Regions from separate parts of the Homo sapiens genome. Here region 2 is linked to region 1. The links are contacts of gene promoters, found by promoter capture Hi-C in blood cells and fetal thymus (Javierre and others, 2016). All regions are on one chromosome and are shown on one strand. The core of a region is centred on a gene start or on the middle of the fragment in contact, and the rest is flanking DNA. Distances in the headings are between cores, read along the strand shown.

Region 1 (3,925 bases), core at 252-2,751:
TGGCCAAGATCGCACAGCCAGTCAGTGGCAGAGGTGGGACTTGAACCCGTCCCTTGCTGTTCCTTGAACTTCTCCACACGACAGGGCTGTCCCTCAGCCTACAGGTCACCCCTCTAGCCTTGCCTGTTGGCTCTTCCTAATCCTTTCAGGCCCAGCCCAGATACTTTTTAAACAAGAATGATGAGAGCTAACTTTTTTTAAAATGAGACGGTCTTGCTCTTTCACCCAGAGAAGACTGGGTGATAACAGTGGCTCAATCTTGGCTCACTGCAGCCTCTGCCTCCAGGGTTCAAGCTATTCTCATGCCTTAGCCTCCTCAGTAGCTGGGATTACAGGGGTGCATCACTACACCACGCTAATTTTTGTATTTTTAGTAGAGATGCGGTTTTACCATGTTGGCCAGGCTGGTCTCGAACTCCTGACCTCAGGTGATCCGCCAGCCTTGGCCTCCCAAAGTGCTGGGATTACAGGCGTGAGTCACTACGCATGGCTGAGAGCTAACGTTTATTAAGCACCCGCCACTTTCTAGATGAGGTCCTTACTGACTTCCTTGGGTTATTTTAGGTAATCATCCCCATACCTCTTACGTGGCAGGTATGACTGTTACAGAGGGAGAAACCGAGGCTGAGAAAGGCTAAGTAGCGGCCACACCTCACTCAGCAGGTGACAGGCTGCGGTCGCACTCATGACATAGTCTGACTCTAGAGCAGGCCTTTCCTGCCCGCTGTTGCTGCCTCCAGAAGCCTCTCTGAATCCAAGGGTGGGAACTATTCCTCCTTGCCCTCGAGCCTTCGCCAAAGCCAGGGCTTGGAGCGGCCGTGGGCTCCTCCTCCTTCCCCCAGGCTGGGCTCTTCAGGGGCGGAAACCTGCCTGGCTTGCCTGCCTTGCTCGACCCTGTAGCCCCTGGCACGAAGTAGGTGCCCGTGATGCCGGATTATTTCAGCAGGAGGGCAGGGGTGTTCCCGATGAAGCCAGGAGATCCAGGGAGGAGAAGCGACTCCCGGGGCCACCCATGCTTAGATCTCAGAGCCAGGCAAGAGCCAGGTCCCGGGGGTCCAGGAGCGCGCTCGGGGCTCCTCCTCGCCCGCGCCCCCCGCGCCCCTCGCGCCCCCCGCGCCCCCCGCGCCCCCTGCGCTCGCGTCTGCGGGGCCGGGAGGAAGGGGCGGCGCAGCCGGGCCGGGGCGGGCACCGAGGCCTGGCGGGCGGGCCTGGGGCGCTTTCGTGCCTGCCAGGGAAAGGCTGGCGAGGAGGCTGGGGGCGGACGCAGGGAGGAAAGAAGCAATGGGGTGCTCTTGCGTTTTGACATTTTAAAAAGAAGTTTAGATTCGCTTCCCGGAGCCGGGATGGCAGCCTGCGCTATGGTTGGGGACCAACGTGGTGCACGGGCAGGGGCCGGGGAGAGAGGCGGCCGCAGCGGGAGCCCGGGAGCGCAGGGCGGGCCTGGAAGAGCTCCGCCCCAAGGGGCGCGGCCACCCCGGAGGCGGGCGCACGGCTGCTTCTCATTCATTGTCTTGACAAGAGCATCTTCAGCGGGCGAGTCCCCGGCTCCTCCAGCTCCTTCCTCCTCTTCCTCCTCCTCCTCCACCTCCGGCTTTTGGGGGATCACTGTCCTCTCTCGGCAGCAGGTGAGGCTGGGCCTGGGAGGCGCGGGTGGGCCGGGGCGAGGGCCACCTGTGGGGCGGCGCGCGCGTGGGAGCCGCGGGCTGCGGGGGCGCGCGGCTGTCACCGCGACCCAGCCAGCGCCGGGGCCAGGTAGCGGGCGCAGCAGCCCGTGGGGGGACGCTGCTTGGAGTGGGGGCCGCCGGGGCCCCAGAGCGCTCTGCGGAGGCGAGGGCTAGGGACCACCGCGGCCAAGATGGAGGTGGGTGGCCGGGGGTCAGCACAGTGTCGAGGGCCCGACTCCCCACGGAATTGAGTCTCGGGGAGGGTGGGGACGAGGGCAGGGTGGGGTGAGCGGGGCAGCTGCCCTGGGCTTGGAGACAGGAAGGGGTTGAGAGCAAAACAAGAAAAGACCAAGTTCCCCTTTCCGTGGTTTCCGGGCCTGGTACCTGTGGTGGGGGAGGAGGCAGGGTGGGGCGATGGCTTCCTGTCCCCCACCTCTGGTCCGGGGCTCCCCTCTCTCCAGATACAGGCTGCTCCTCAAGACTGGGGCTCTTCACATACGCTCCTCACCGCTCTTTGGGCAGGCCGACCTAGCAGCCTCTTCGGGAGTCCTGGGGTGGCCGGGGGTGCTGGAGCCCCCAGTGAGTAGGCGAGGCTGAGGCTAGGGGCAGAGGCTCTGGGCATGGCACCCTCCAAGCGGCAGCACAGGCCCCTTCCCTGAGCAGGAAGGTGATGCGGTGGCACAAGGTCGCCCCTGGAGTTCCTTGCTCCCCACCCAGACACTGGGGGAAACCATCCTACCTGGACCTCAGAGCAGTCGGAGTGGCCTCTCCCTTCCTGTGTGCAGTTTACATGGGGGTGGAGATGGCTCTTAAGGGCACCTGCTTTTCTGAGCGGAGGCGAGAGGCAGAGGTATGGGGAGGAGGAGATACCTGGACCTGAGCCAGAGACCTGCTGGGGAAGCTATCCTGCCGCCTCACTCCCCTCAGGCAGCCCCCACGCCACTTCCTCCTGTGTCCAGCCCCATGCCAGCAGGCGAGGGAGGCCAGCTCCTGTCCCTGCCTTTAGGAAGCGCTGTGTGGGTGTGAGGGAGGTGGGCTCTGGACACGGTAACTAAGAGAGAACCCACCCTCGGAGCCATCTGGGCTGATGACGCCTGAGTCTGAACCATTAGGAAGGACGGGCTCTGCATCCATCAGCCAGTCAGTCAACAAACATGCAGTGGGGCAACACCACGCCAGGCTCTGTTGCAGAGGCTGAGGGTACAGATTGAGAGGGTGGCTCAGAGTGGCCTGGGGCCAGGGAGAAGGGGGCTTGCAGGTTAGAGGGAAGGAGAGGCTGGGGAAGGCAAGCAGGCATCAGCCACAGAGGGAAGAATAGGGAGCCCCTGGAGATGATGCTGGGACCTTAAAAGCCAGACTGAGGGGTGTCCTGGGGGAGGTGGGGACCACTGGAAGATCAGAGTTGACCTGAAGGGAGAAATGCTCTTATGCTGTGTGCCCCCAGAATGAGCCGGCAGGTGGTCCGCTCCAGCAAGTTCCGCCACGTGTTTGGACAGCCGGCCAAGGCCGACCAGTGCTATGAAGATGTGCGCGTCTCACAGACCACCTGGGACAGTGGCTTCTGTGCTGTCAACCCTAAGTTTGTGGCCCTGATCTGTGAGGCCAGCGGGGGAGGGGCCTTCCTGGTGCTGCCCCTGGGCAAGGTGAGCCCCTGGGGCCCTGGGGGGAGCAGCTCCTCCACCGGACCCATGGCTCTGTGCAGGTCCTGATTAGGTGACGGTCACCAGGCCTTCCAGGGCCTGTGTTGCCATCTGGAAAACTGAGCTGGGCCCCATGAGCCTTACACTTCCTCCAGCTCCTCTGTGCTGTGGCTGTGTGGAAACTGACGCTCAGAAGGAGCCAACACAAGATGGGTCACACCAGTGACCAGGACTACAGACAGTCCTGCAGACCCATGATCAGCCCTCCTGAGCCTCAGCCTGGGGCTTTCTCCCCATGGAAACACAGAGGGGGTTGGGATGGGGTCTGGGGGCCCTGGCAGCGTTCTCAGGGTTGGGAGGGACTCTGGCTCTGGGCCTGTCTGAGGACCTAGCAACTCTGTCCCCCAGCTCGCAGGCAGGGATGATGCAAGAGGTGCTCTCCCCCACCCGCAGCCCTGCCCTCCCCTGGAGCCTGCTGCCCCCTCCGCTGGCTGGCTGCTGCCCCGCACCCCCAGCACACTCCTGTGCTCTTTGGGGGGTAAGACAGGAAGGGGAGATGGGCCCCAAGTTGTTACCTTAAAAGGGCTGATGGAAGCAAAGAGAAGAGGAAGTGGTTGTCGG
Region 2 (4,214 bases), core at 714-3,213, 210 kb after region 1:
CTCAACCATCAAAGTTAGCTGTTATCATCCCTATTTTACAGTTTGGGAAACAGAAGCTTAAGTAACTTCCCTAAAGTCAAGTAGCAATTAAGTGACAAAGGCCAAGAACCACACTCTGCATAAATGGCTTTAAAGACAGTATCTGCACCCACTGAACACTACAGAAGGTATCTCTGTGCGCTACACTCCTATAAAATTTTGTCCATACAGTCAATATAGAACCTGTCACACCATCTGACAACTCCATATCCTATTGGGCCAAGAGCTCCCTGAAGAGTTTCTTTATTTCCAGGGCCTAGGACAGTGTTTAGGTATTAGCTAGTGATCAATAGGTATGTGTTGATTTCTGGTCCCTGTTTCTGTCAGTGCTAACATCCATGCATGCCAGGCACACAGAGATTCATTACTACAAACTAGAACCCTTCCTGTTCTCCCACACTATCGTGAATTGGTCCATATAACTCTTTTTTTTTTTTCTTGAGATGAAGTCTCGCTCTTGTCCCCCAGGCTGGAGTGCAATGGCGCGATCTCAGCTCACTGCAACCTCCGCCTCTGGGGTTCAAGTGATTCTCCTGCCTCAGCCTCCCAAGTAGCTGGGATTACAGGCGCCTGCCACCACGCCCTGCTAATTTTTTTATTTTTAGTAGAGATGGGGTTTCACCATGTTGGCCAGGCTGGTCTGGAACTCCTGACCTCAAGTGAGCTCCTGCCTCTGGCTCCCAAAGGGCTGGGATTACAGGTGTGAGGCACCACACCCGGCCTTTTAAATTTTATTTATTTATTTTTTTGAGACGCAGTCTGACTCTGTCACCCAGGCTGGAATGCAGTGGCGTGATCTCGGCTCTTTCCAACCTCCGCCTCTCAGGTTCAAGTGATACTCCTGCCTCAGCCTCCTGAGTAGCTGGGATTACAGGCCCGTGCCACCACGCCCTGCTAAGTTTTGTATTTTTAGTAGAGACAGGGTTTCACCATGTTGGCCAGATTGGTCTCAAACTCCTGACCTCATGTAATTCACCTGCCTCGGCCTCCCAAAGTGTTGGGATTACAGGTGTGAGCCACTGCACCTGGCCGGGTCCATATAACTACCTTAACAGTCTCTCTTTCTTTCTCTTTTTTTTTTAGATGGGGTCTCGCTCTATTACCCAGGCTGAAGGGCAGTGTCACAAATATGGTTTACTGCAGCCTCAACCTCCTGGGCTCAGGTGATCCTCCTGCCTCAGTCTCCAGTGTAGCCAGGACCACAGATATGTGCTACCATGCGCTGCTAAATTTTTGTTTTTTTTTTGTAGAGACAAGGTCCACTTTTTTGCCTAGGCTGGTTTCGAACTAGTGGCCTCAAGTGATCCTCCCACCTTGGCCTCCCAAAGTGCTGGGATTACAGGCATGAGCCACTGGGCCCAGCCCATTCTCTCTCTCTTTTTTTTTTTTTTTAAAGAGACAGGGTCTCGCTCTGTTGCCCAGCATGGAGTACAGTGGCACGATCCACGATCATGGCTCACTGCATCCTTGAATGCCCAGGTTCAGGGAATCCTCTCAGCTGGGATTACAGGGGCAGGCCACCAGGCCCAGCTAAATTCTCTAATTTCAGTGATTTGTGTACTTGCTCCTTTAGACTGGTAGCTCTCCAAGGACAAATCTTGCAGGTGTTTCAACTTTTTATCCCCAACTCTTGGCTTAGCACTAAGATGCTAATAAATGTGAATTAATGCATAAACCACAGTTACCCCCACCATCATTGGCAGAGGGGCTGAAGACACCTCCAGACACTCTCTCCACCCCAAAACCAAGCCCGCCCAGAGAGCGGATACTGGGATCTTGCTCCTAGGGCCTGGGAACCTGGAAACACAGCTCCAGCCAGGGGCCCACCAGGATGGGAAACAGGGCTTGTTCTTCAGCCTCTCCCTGAGCCTGGCCTCTATAGGGCTGCCGACCTGTCCGGAGTCTTTCTGGCCGCCTCTTTCTTTGTGTCTCTTTCTCTTTGTCTCTGCCCGTTTCGCTCACTATCGTCTTTTGTTCCTCTGCTTCTGGGCCTGTTACTCTCCAGGCTCCCAGCCTCTTACTGCTCCTCGGACTCTGCGTCAATGACTTTATCTCTTATCCGTTTCTACGTCTCTGTCTCTAGCGGCTAATCTTTGGCTCCCCTTATTTTTGGTCAGCCGCTGTCCCTCGGTCTCTCTCTGCCTTTGCGTCCTCTGTGACTCAGGGCTCTGATGTGAGTCTCTGGCTCAGGGTCTCTGTTCCGGGCCCCAGGTCTGATTCCATCTCTCCAGCAGCATTTACCCGGTGTCTGCCTCTAGCCTCTGCTCCTGCCTCGGTCTCCCCAGCCCAGCCCCCATTCCATACCCACCCCCACCCCGGGCCCTCGGCCTCTCGGACCAGCCCCGCTTTGTTTCCCACGTCTCGGCGCCCCGCCCCGCCCCGTCTGGGGTCTCCGCCGCCCTTTGTCTGCCTTGGTCTCTCCCCCACCCCTTTCCCCGGGTCCGTCTTTGGATCCCTCTTTCTTTGTCTCTCCCAGGTCGGAGTGGCTGGCGCTGTCGGCCGGCCGGGGAGGTCGGCGCGGGTGGCTGGAGACACACAGCCACAATTACGAAGAGCCTCGGGCCTCACCACCCAGCTGCAGCCCAGGAGGCACACGGTTAATACCACCGAGTTCGGGCCGCCGGCCTCGGCTTAGAGTAGCCCCTGGGCCGCACGCTGCCGCCCGCCGGCCACAGAGCTACCGCCGACGCGGGCGACCCCCACAGGCCCGCAGCTCCTCCAAGGTCCTAGAGCGGCTCCGTGCGGCCCCGCGCTTCCGCTTCCCGTCCCCGCCCCCGGTGGCCGCCCCCGGGACGCCTGGGTCCGAGCCCGCTCCCGGCTTGGCGCGGAGCCTGCATCCCGGAGCCGCTGGCGGCTCGGGCGCCTGCACCCCGCTGAGGAGCTCCGGAGGGCGCCGGGGTGGCGGAGCCGGAGGCGGCCGGCAAGGTGAGAGCGGCGGCTGCGCGCTGGGAGGAGCAGCAGGTGCAGGGGCGGCCGGCGGCGCGGGCAGGGGGCACCGGGAGCCGCGCCCGTACCTGGGACCCGACGCCGCCCGGTGCCCGCGCTGGCCGGCAGAGGGCAGCGGCAGGGCGCCGCGGGCCACACATGGCTGCGTGACCGCGGGATGCTGTCTGTCCCCTTGCTCAGGGCGGCGTGCCGGCGATGGAGCGCGCGGTAGAGCCTTGGGGCCCAGATCTCCACCGCCCGGAGGAGAGGGAGCCACAGAGAGGCGCCCGCACAGGTGAGGGCCTCGGCCGTGCGCCGCCACGGACAGGTAACGGCCGGTGGGGACTGCGATGCTTGGCTGTGGCCGGCCGAGATCCTGGAAGATCGGACGTGAGCTGTGCCTCTGGGGAGATAGGGGGAGGGGAGCTTTCGGAGCACCAACTGTGCGCCAGGCCGGGAGGGGCTCTTCACGGCCTCTGTCCCCTCCCTCACGGCCTTCCTCATCCTTACTGCCTCTGCCCTACTTCAGGCTTCATTCTGTTTTATCCTGGCAATTGCAGTAGCCTCCTCTCTGCCCCTTTCTCTCCACTGATGCATTCTCTCGCCAGCTTGATCTAAGTCCAGATATAATCCTGTGTCTCTTCTGGAAAACCTTCCCTAGCGTCCCCCAGTCTCCTAATTAAAAGCCTTAGCTAGTGTCCAATCCAAACCGTGCGTGCTCAGGTTAGTCCCAACATCCTTTGACACCTTATCTTCCATTCCACTCCATTATTTTCTCTTCGCTCTGCCGTAATGCCGGTTCCTATTTCCTTATCTCCTATCTCTCTTGTGACAACATAGTTATTCTAGTTATTCTGCACCCACAATTATAACCATTGATACTTTAATCTTATCTCTCCTACCACCCTAAGCTTCTTGAGGAAGGGATGTGTGCCTGGGTCCTCTCAGGTACACACAGGATAACTGATGTAATAAATTACCGAATGGGCTAATATAATAAGATACAATAATAATAGCAAATACCAAGTTTTCCAAATAGACAATATAATGTAGGGATTAACACGGGCTTGAGTGTCAGAGAGACCTTAGTTAGACATCACGCTTTGCTACTTTTTTTTTTTTTTTTTTTTTTTGGCGACAGGGTCTCACTGTGTCACCCAGGCTAGAGTGGCACAATCACAGCTCACTGCAGCCTCCACCTCCTGGGCTCAAGTGATCCTCCTACCTCAGCCTCCCAGTAGCTGGGACTA

What was found. Contacts are between HindIII fragments. The CHiCAGO score rates a contact against its expected background, and 5 or more counts as called.
Region 2: a fragment that was not itself captured here is called in contact with the fragment with the promoter of CORO1A in region 1 in 1 of 17 cell types (fetal thymus); the score reaches 5.7 in fetal thymus.

The regions. Positions count from the first base shown.
Region 1 is chr16:30,182,101-30,186,025 of GRCh38, forward strand. It overlaps CORO1A (coronin 1A), which reads left to right and starts at 1,502. Exons shown (of 11, transcript NM_007074.4): 1 at 1,502-1,625; 2 at 3,109-3,307. The coding sequence starts at 3,110. It overlaps CORO1A-AS1 (CORO1A antisense RNA 1), which reads right to left and starts at 2,688. Exons shown (of 2, transcript NR_186359.1): 1 at 2,404-2,688; 2 at 1,293-1,671. RefSeq lists enhancers at 255-364, 1,783-2,323, 2,324-2,865, 2,866-3,405, 3,406-3,925 and 1 more and silencers at 1,085-1,194, 1,335-1,794, 1,825-1,934, 3,305-3,404. The HindIII fragment of the contact is 25,461 bases long and covers 1-3,925 here.
Region 2 is chr16:30,392,615-30,396,828 of GRCh38, forward strand. It overlaps ZNF48 (zinc finger protein 48), which reads left to right and starts at 2,806. Exons shown (of 3, transcript NM_001214909.2): 1 at 2,806-2,964; 2 at 3,166-3,259. The coding sequence starts at 3,181. RefSeq lists enhancers at 726-1,226, 3,228-3,824 and silencers at 2,718-2,907, 2,998-3,257. The HindIII fragment of the contact is 3,819 bases long and covers 55-3,873 here.